2 separate regions of the Homo sapiens genome follow, and region 2 is linked to region 1. The links are contacts of gene promoters, found by promoter capture Hi-C in blood cells and fetal thymus (Javierre and others, 2016). All regions are on one chromosome and are shown on one strand. Each heading gives the region's core, a stretch centred on a gene start or on the middle of the fragment in contact. The rest is flanking DNA. Distances are from core to core; before and after follow the strand shown.

Region 1 (4,783 bases), core at 578-3,077:
CTGCTCATGTAAGAGTGAGTGTGGGCACTCCCTTGGAGCACATGTGGGTATCGGCCCTCAGAATGGTGGGGGAGCCACTGGCAATTGGCAGGATGCCCCAAGTTTGTCAGCCGCTGAACTTACAAGGTGAGAGTGACCTCCATGGGCATTGCAGGCCTCTCTCAGGACACTCGCAACCTATTCCAGGCATCAGGATTCTAGTTCTCACAGCACCTTATGGCCTGCTCATCCCAAAACCCACAAAGGCATTTCCGCCCTCACTGACACCCCCTTCCTACCCCTACGTGCACCATCACTCTCCAGCTAAGAAACCACATTAGTTACGCTTCAGCTGCAGTTCCAGTGAACTCAACGCCATCAGAGAAAGGATACAGACTCCTTGGGTGATGTTTTTGGCACATCTGGCTGCTTTCCTGGAATTGTCACATTGAGTTGCTTTTTCTTTGCAAACAGGGTCTAGAAACAAACTCTTATTCTTTATCACCAGGCATGCTGTCTAAGCCTGTCCCCCATCCTGTGTGCCCCACAAAAGCCATTCTCATCCCCTGACCTCCATGCCCCTCAAGCTGAGTTACTTCTCATATGTGGTTTGGTCTGTATGCACTTCCCAGGAAGTATTCTGAACCTGCACCACTCAAAGTATGGTTCTGAGACCGGGAACACAACCATCCTCTGGAAGCTGGTGAGAAATGTAGTTTCCCTGGCCCTGCTCACAGCTACTGGGTCAGAATCTTTGGGTGGGGAAACTAGGAACTTGCTTTTTAACGTGACATCAGGGGATGCTGGTTGCTTCTGAAGTTTACAAGGAGCTACGGATAAACATCAAAGGCATATTTCACAGGGACAAAGCTTAAGTCTGGTCTGTGAAGAGTGCATTATTCAGTCTTTTGAGAGCCCCATTTGCGGTTGGAGTTGGAGGCTATGTGGGTCTTGGTCGAGAACTCAGAATCTCCACCCACAAACTGTGCCGCAGAGTGCTGTGCCGGCTGTGGCCACAGGAGGGAACCCGTGACAACCTAATGGGTGCACTTCAGCCATCCCTGAGGGCATCTTCGTCTTTCTGGTTCTCCACTGCTCCAATTGCAAGCGGCCACCCGTCCTGGAAACACCTTTGAGGAATAGGGGCAGCCATAACTAGCCAGGCCCCTAGTACCAGCACTTGGCAGCGCGTCCCTGGGCTGGGAAGCTGCATTTAGGGAGGTGCAGAGAACAGGGTTGGGGGCTCCTGCTCTTGATTTCCTCAACCTCTGCCCACGACCCCCAGGCTGGTGCCCCCCTCCCGAGACCCTCGGGGGAGCAGACACCTGCAGGACATCCCGCCAATCCTCCCGGGCTCCCCGCCTCTCTCTCAAGAGGCCCAGTGCTTTCTCGGGGCGCTGTACCTGCTCACCCATGATACTAGCATCCACTGTCATCCCTTTCCATCCTTTTGTCTCTGCCTTTCCACCTAACCTCCCCCTCCCAGCCCACCCCCACTGCTGAGTCCAGGGCTCACCTTCCACTCATACCTCTCACACTTGTGTTCCTGTGCCGGGCTCTGACTCTGGGGCGCCCAGTAGAGGTCTCCTTTAGCCTGCGGAGGTGCTGGGGCAGCTGGGGCTGGGCCTCATGTTCAGGGCACTATCTCTCCCATTGCTAGTCTTTTCCAACCCACCTGCCTGGGTGCTGTTCCTCTCCCCTAAACAGGAGATGATTTAAACGCCTTTGGAAGAAGGGAGGCCATGTGTGGGAGAGACAGGGTGTAACTGCAGAGGTGAGGCCTGGAGGGAGGAGTTTCTGCCCCAGCAGGTGAATTTAAAGGCCAGACCTGAGCCCTGGAAGGCTCCAGTGGACGCCAGGGATCTGAAGGGCAAAGGCAAGGGCTGCTGGAGCCTGCATCATGTCGAGTCCGCAGAGGAGGAAGGCTATGCCCTGGGCACTGTCACTGCTTCTCATGGGCTTCCAGCTCCTGGTGACTTATGCCTGGTGTTCTGAAGAGGAAATGGGTGGTAATAATAAAATAGTCCAGGATCCTATGTTCCTCGCCACAGTGGAGTTTGCCTTGAACACTTTCAACGTGCAGAGCAAGGAGGAGCATGCCTACAGGCTGTTGCGCGTCCTGAGTTCATGGAGGGAGGATAGCATGGACAGAAAGGTTGGTGACCACATCCTCTTCTGGCCTGTCCTTCTCCATCTGCCCCTAAGTGAGGGACCAAGATGTCTAGTCTAGGAGACTTGGTTCACCATCAGCAGTCCATAGTCAGGTAGTCCACAACCAATTACGGTAGTTTTAGTTTTGGAAAACATTGAACTTAAAATTTTTTTTAAATTAGGTAAATGTCTATTCACATGCAAAATATATTTTTCAATCTTCATGATTTTTAAGACATTGTATAACTGAAGAGTGACTTCAAAATAAGGACTTCTAAGGAGATGAAGCTGACAAGAAGAGAAAATAACCAAAGAGACTGATAAACATTTCCAGGTCATAAAATGAAAATGGAAAAGCAAGGACACACAGAGGGAGAGAGAGAGAGAGACAGAGAGAGACAGACAGACAGAGAGAGAGAGACAGAGAGAGAGAGAGACAGGCAGACAGAGAGAGAACAGTGAGAATTCGAGGGCAATAAAGAACACCATCAGCCCTGAGAGGCCACCGTGAAAGGTTAGTTCTCTGATCTCCACCTTCTCTGGGCTCCTTGCTCTGTCTGCACTTAATGAACTGAAGGCCAATTTACACTCTTCCTCAATGGACCTTTATCCTAAAATGCTTGCCTTTTTGATGAAATCATTAAATGTGGTCAGGAATGCACAGTTCATCTGGGCTTCAGGCATGAACAATTAAAATGCCCTCCTAGTGGAGAACTTCTGGTTTAGAGAGAGAAGGAGCATTGCTCTTCCTTTCTCAGCACCAAGAGCCTGAAAGAAAGGCAGAGGGACTCTAGTACCGCACAGAGCTTAAGCTCTGGAAAGACTCTGTGCAAGGCTCTGGCTGGTTCTCTGCCTCCTGGGGTGGATTCCTCACTGCCATCCTCAGGATTCCAATGCTGGTACAGAGGAATTTTCCTCCTTGCTCATTTGCTGCCTCCTCTCAGGAGAATTAAAAGCCTGATGCAACCCTCAGAGGGGCATCTGGTCCAGTAATGGTGGCTGCTAATATTCATGCTGGAACCTTGGAAGTCTCAGAGATTGAGATTGGCCAGGCCTCATGCTTCTGCTTTCCCAGTGCTTTGCTTGATTCTCCAAGACCTCAGTGTAAGCCTCCATTCTTAATACCGTTAGAATAAAATCTAAGCTCCTTACTATGGTCTATAAGTCCTAAATGACAGTAAGTCCTAAAAGCTTTCCACATGGCTTCCTGGATATGGCAATCCCAGCATCAGTTTGGGGGCTGGGAAGAATAGATGGGTGAGAGGGAGGCTATGGAGTGGAATTAAATAGAATGGAGTGGGAAGGAGGGCAAGGAGAACTTCAGCATGCACTTTGCAATAGGGCAGATGGTATTTCTTGAACCCATTTTCCCAGGGTGTGTGCCTGTGTGTAGTGGGAGCGCTGTGTGTCATTCTTCTTGCTGGAGGTCACTTGGAAGGTTTGACAACACACTGTAGATGAGGCTCCCTCTGTCCCAGGGCTGAAGTTACCCTGAAAACTCTTGGAGATCCAACACCCTCCCGGACATGTGGCTCTGTCCTCTGGGAATGCAGCTGCAAGATCAGATGCCTACTGAGAGTGAAGCTGGAGTCTCACCGTGGGAAATGGGGGTGGGTGGAGGTGGATAATGTGTTAGTGGGGTCTGACTCAGCCTGCATCCTCCCCAGACCCACCATGCCCACCTGCTTTTTGCTCTTAACTCCTCAGTCTAGAGAAGATCCCCTGGGTTTCACCTCCAGTGAGCTGATGCCAGGCCCATGGGCAAGCTCTCAAATGCAGTAAAGTGTTGGGGCCTCTCCTACTCAAATGGCATCTTCACTAGTAGCTACTTAGGGGCAGGAAGACGGTGCATCCACTTTAATCTTCTTTTGTCCAACAGTGGCGAGGTAAGATGGTGTTCTCCATGAATCTGCAACTGCGCCAAACCGTATGTAGGAAATTTGAAGATGACATTGACAACTGCCCTTTTCAAGAAAGCCTGGAGCTGAACAACGTAAGACAGGGCATCAGCTTTCCTCAGGTCCACAGCTGTGGATGCTGCATGGGGTGTGGTGTGGGCACAGGAGCAGCTGACAAAGCCATTCCGAGGGACAAAGGGAAGTGAGCCCACAGCAGGCTGTACCAGGCTGCCCTGCTTGTGCCTTAGTGGGAAGCCCAGTGAGGCATTAAGCCCAGGGGTTCACTTTCAGGCCCCTGGCCAATCTGAGTTTCCTGATTCTGCCCTCTGACACCATTGCAGCTGCCTGCACCTGGGCCACATGGCCTTCAGAACCTTCTCTCTGGTCTTCCTCCCCACTTCTTCCCTGCCTTCTAGAGAAAGAGCCTGGAGACAATGGTGACAATGTCTGTGGGTACTTTTCTCAGGGTTTCCCTACCCTGCCCTAGACCCAAAAGTGGTGGAGGCTGAGAAGAAGCCCCACTGCCCTCGCTCCTAGGCCCTGCTGAGCTGCAGCACCTGCTCTAGGGGACGAGCTCCAAGCAAAGCCTGGCTCTGGGAAAACTTCCCATTCTTAGTCAACCCCCTTATTGTAAGATTAACAAATAGGTAACTAATTGCCTAAGTCTGGGAACTGCTTCCACTGGGACAAAACATTCTCCTGCTGCTCTTGGATGCAGGGATCACACCAGGACAGCCTGGGGTTCCCCTGAGGGG
Region 2 (4,783 bases), core at 1,121-3,620, 910 kb after region 1:
TGAGGGGCCACTGCCATGCAGGTCACGGACTGGGAGCTGGATTTAGAAGGAATTCCACTCAATGTGACCAACACCTTCTATGCATGGAGTAAGTGAAAATCCTTCTGTTAGAGGTGTGATGTTTAAGGGGAGAGTCAAGGAGTCCCAAAGTAATGAGAACAAGCAGGTTTCAAGGTGGGATTGATGCTGGGGTGAGCGGCAGAGAGCTGAGATAACAACCTCTAGGAGCCAGACTCTTAAATGACATTAATATGTGTACACGTTCCAGAGTGTCCACAGTTATGAATAAAGCAGAGAAGACAAGGGGCATGAGGAGGAGAATAAGCCAGGGGAGTTGGCAACAAGGAGGCCATAAATGACTGCAAGATTCTTGAAGGCAGAAAGTCGACCTGATGCTGCTTATGCCACATCAGGCAGTCTTTCTCACAGCATCCACTGATTCATGTGAGAGCTATTGATTAAGAAATGTACTGCATGCCAGGTCCAGGATATTCAACAAGGAGCAGGAAAGGCAGATTCTTGCCTTTGGCATGAACAGTGTAGCAGAGAAGAGACAAGAGTCCACTTGTCCATGTGAGCAGGACATGATGGCACAGCATGGTGAATGCTGTGATAGAGGGAGTTTAGGGCAATGTGGAGAACCCACTGTGAAGCAGCACCCCATCTAGGTTTGAAGTCAGGAAGGTAGGGCTTCCTGGAGAAAGTTATGCCCAAGTTGGGACCAATGCCAGACATACATTAGTCAGAGCAAGTAACACCAGCTGCTGTAACAAATGAGCTCCAAATTATAGACACTGTTACAGGCTGAACTGTGTTCCCAAAAAGAAAAGATATGCTCTTAATTCCTGGTACCTGTGAATGTGACTTTATTTGGAAACAGGGTCCTTGAAGATATAATCAACTTAGGAAGGAGTCATGCTGGCTTAAGGTGGGCCCTGAGCCATGTCTGGTGTCCTTATAAGAAAGGAAAATGTGGACACATGCAGACACAGAAGGACAGCATCACGTGTGGACAGAGGCTGTGACTGGGGTGGAGCCTCTATGGGCCAAGGGGTGCCAACGATTCCCAGCAACCACAGAGACAAGAAAGAGGAAGGAAGGATCCTTCCCTGGAGCCTTGATAGTGAACATGGCCCAGGGCAAGCTCCGGGAATGTGAGACAATACCTTTCTCTTGTCTTAAGGCACCCAGCCTGCGGTACTTTGTTACGGAGGCTTAGCACACTAGGGAGGTTATTCCTTGTTTGCCCTGACTTTGGCTCAGAGGAGTAGCTGGGGGTAGGGGTGGGAGTGGCTGTGCTCCACAGAGTCACTAAGGGACCCAGGATCCTTCTCTCTTGTTGCTCCACCTTCCTTTAGGACCTCCACAAGAGAAGCAGAGATGGAATAGAGAGAACACAGAGACCCCATGGGAGGCTTCAGGATCAAGCTACCTCACTGCACCCACATCCTATTACCAGAACAAAGTCAGATTCCCTACCCTCAACCAAAAGGGACATGGAAATATCCTCTTTCTGTATATCTAGGGGGAAAATAAAGCATTTTTGGTGAAAACATAGCATTTCACTGTTTCTTCCCCAAAATGCAAGCTGTTTTTTGAACTATAAGTACAGAGCTCCTTTGAAGCTTCCTGGGATGATTCCTAGTGCCATTATTCTGGGCTGTGGGAATAACCATTTTCATTGTCTATATCATCTACAATTCCAGTGTAACTCAAGATCCATTTGTGCAGACCAAAGTGTCCAACTCTTTCCAGTCTGCTATCAGGAGTGCCTCTCCATTATCCCTGCTGTGGACAAGCTCTTCCCTTCCTGGGCCTCCTAACTCAGCTGCATTCATTTCTGGGTAAAGCAAACAGACCTCTTAGAGTTCCTCTGATAGGGTGCTCTTGTTTTCAGGTGGGAAGCTGTTTTGCTTTGCCCTATGGTGCCCTTATTGATGAAGCTGAGTAGAGCTACAGTAGAGCTCTGCTGCAAACTGTTGAGGCCTTTGGAGAGTGTTTTTCTGGGAAAGATGCCTGAGTTCTTTCAACCCCCTGGGGAACTAAATGCCAGCAAAGCATGACTGGCTCTGGGCCCAGCTATGAATACAAGGAGCAAGATAGACAGATCTGGGTGCATTTCTTTTCCATTATCATCCCATTGTATCTGGAGCCCAGGAGAGGAGATGAAAGTGCTAGCAATTAATCTGGGGCCAGATGGCTCGGCCAATCCCATCCCACTCTCTGTGCTGTGGGGTCATTTCCATTTGCCTTTTATTTTGACAAGCATATTAATCAGCAAAGGTGAGTGGCATTATTAAAGCAGCTGCTGGTGCCAGCACTCTCTCCCCCAACCCTGCCACACTCAGTTTCAAGTCGTTCTCTCCAGTAAAGAGGGAGGCTTCTGTCCAGCTCATCGGGAGTAATTACTGCTTTACTCTTTACAGGTAGCTCAGCACACACATGCGCACACATGTGCACACACATGCATGTACATGCACATGCATGACACACATGCACACAAACACTACTGTGCCTATCAGAGGATGCCTGCATGAGTGAAGAGTTGGACTTTCCCACTGCACACTGAACAGAGACAGGGCAGGTCTTACTGCCATTTCTTTCTCTCTACTTGTCCAGACACATTGAGGTCCAGTCTTGAACACAGAGAGAGAATATTTAAAATACCATTGACTTCCAAGCCTCCCACAGCCAACCTGCCCATAGATACATTACATAGCTATTTAAGTTTGACAGCGTTCTGAATTCCTCTGGCAAGGGGAGAATAGATTGAACCTCCTAAGTCATAAGATAGGAAGAGAGAATTACGGCAAGGAGAAGAGGAGAGGAGTTGTTGTGGCAAAGACTTTGAGCACAATTGCAGGGCATTGTTTTCATAATTGTGTATATTTACATTAAACCACTGAAGATGCTGTGGCTGCTGAATTGGCCACCACCAGTTCATTCTGCAATGTTCCTCACTGGTGCTGGATGTCAGGGATGCACTGGGTTTAGGGGCTACAAACTGGCAGCAGAGAATCTTGTTGCAATGTCGCCCACAGCCTCACAGGGCAGGCCCACGTGCAATAGTTGCATCCACGGATAATGGGGTGGAGCAGAGGAGGTGAAAGCTTTGGATTCCTAGGTCTCACCTGTGAGGCACAGAGGGGAGCCATTTGATACTGCACTTGCACTCAGCAAATGACAGTGGAAACACCAAGTGTGTGGCTCAGATCTAGAAACACAACTCATTTCCATTAACCATCAAGTGAAGCTGAGCAGAGAGTTGGGAGACTGAACTTAATTGGAAGCACAGAGGTCATCAGATTGTATGCTCAATTGGCACGACTCTGTCTCAGAGCCCTAACTGGGAAAGAGGCTGCCCGCTCTCACTCCATGGCCTGAAGGGAAGACAGCAGGTGAAAAATCAGTGCACAGTTACCACCACTGCAGGAGGACAGCAGAGACTCTTGTCATCACAATGGACGGGGGCACTTGTGACATCTTTGTCCAAAGAAGGAGCACATTGTCCTGCCTGGTCTTAAACCCAGCCTCTTTGGCATAAAATTTTTAAGGTAAAATAGGTTCATGGTCCAAAGCTATTGAAACAGCATTCTCTGCCTCCTCACTTTGATATTTTTATCCAGGTCAGATCAGATTAAAATGAACAGCAGGAAATTCCATGACAGATGAAAAAAGCACACAAACTTAGACAAGAGAATTGTGAAAGTCAATTTCTATTTAACAGATATTTATTAAAGATTCACATGTGCTGACACTGTTCTGGGTACTTGAAAACATCAATGAACAAAACAATGCTGGCCCTCCTTGAACTTGGTTGCATCCTAGCAGTTGGAAACAGGTAAAACAGAGTAATAAGTGAGTAAATTATCTAGGAAATGGTAAAGAGTACAGCAGAATTGAGTCAGAGCAGAGAGGGTGGGGCAGTTACAGAATTAAACGAAGTGCTCAGGGAGGCCTCATTGGAAAGGTGGCATTTGGGAAAGACTCGGAGGAAGTGCAGGAGTGAGTCAAACTGACATATGGAGGAAGAGTGTTCACATTTCAGAGATTACAGTGGCCAGCGTGGCTGCAACAAAATGAGCAAAAGGAAATATCCCAGGAGCTGATGTCAGGAAGCAGCAGGACCCACATCTGTGGGACTTCCAGGCCACGGCAAGGAGTTTTATTCAGAATAAAACTTTTATTCTGAATAAAACGGAGGCCCTGAAGGTTATTAGCACAGCACTGATATCAGGTTACTCAAGTATTCTAAGGATTACTTAAACCTGGCTGCCATGCTGGGAATAGATTACAAGGAAACAGGGACAGAAACAAGAAAACAAAAATTAGATGATGGTATTTAGACCAGGGTAGTAGCAGAAAAGATAGTGAGAATTGGTCAGGTTCTCAGTATTCTGAAGATAGAGCCAATGGGTTTTATAACAGGTTTGATGTAGAGATAAGTGAAAAAGTGAGGTTGAGAATGCCACCAAGATGTTCCCTGGGCTGTTGGGATGGTGGAGTTTCTATTAACTGGCATGGAAAGGTGGCAGTGGAACAGGCTCAGGCTAAAACCCAAGAGTTCTGTGTTAGCTATGATCACCTTGAGATGTGCTTAGGCATCCAAGTGGAAAGGTTGAGTAGGCAGTTGGGTATATAAATCTGGAATTTAGGAAAAGATTTAGGTTAAAAATATAAACATGGAAGTTATAGCATACCAATGGTATTTAAAGCTATGAGACAAAATGGGGTCATCAAAGGGGAGTGTCTTTAAAAAGAAGACAAAGAGCTGACATTACAA

The links. The method cuts DNA at HindIII sites, captures the fragments that hold promoters and counts their contacts. A CHiCAGO score of 5 or more calls a contact.
Region 2: a contact is called between a fragment that was not itself captured here and the fragment with the promoter of CST9 in region 1, in 1 of 17 cell types (total B cells). The highest score is 5.3, in total B cells.

What each region holds. Positions count from the first base shown.
Region 1 is chr20:23,602,961-23,607,743 of GRCh38, reverse strand. It overlaps CST9 (cystatin 9), which reads left to right and starts at 1,827. Exons shown (of 2, transcript NM_001008693.3): 1 at 1,827-2,134; 2 at 4,010-4,783. The coding sequence starts at 1,880. The coding sequence ends at 4,234. The HindIII fragment of the contact is 2,472 bases long and covers 852-3,323 here.
Region 2 is chr20:22,697,849-22,702,631 of GRCh38, reverse strand. No RefSeq gene overlaps it. Among named protein-coding and RNA genes, the nearest start is that of LINC01747, 15 kb to the right of the region's middle. The HindIII fragment of the contact is 1,485 bases long and covers 1,628-3,112 here.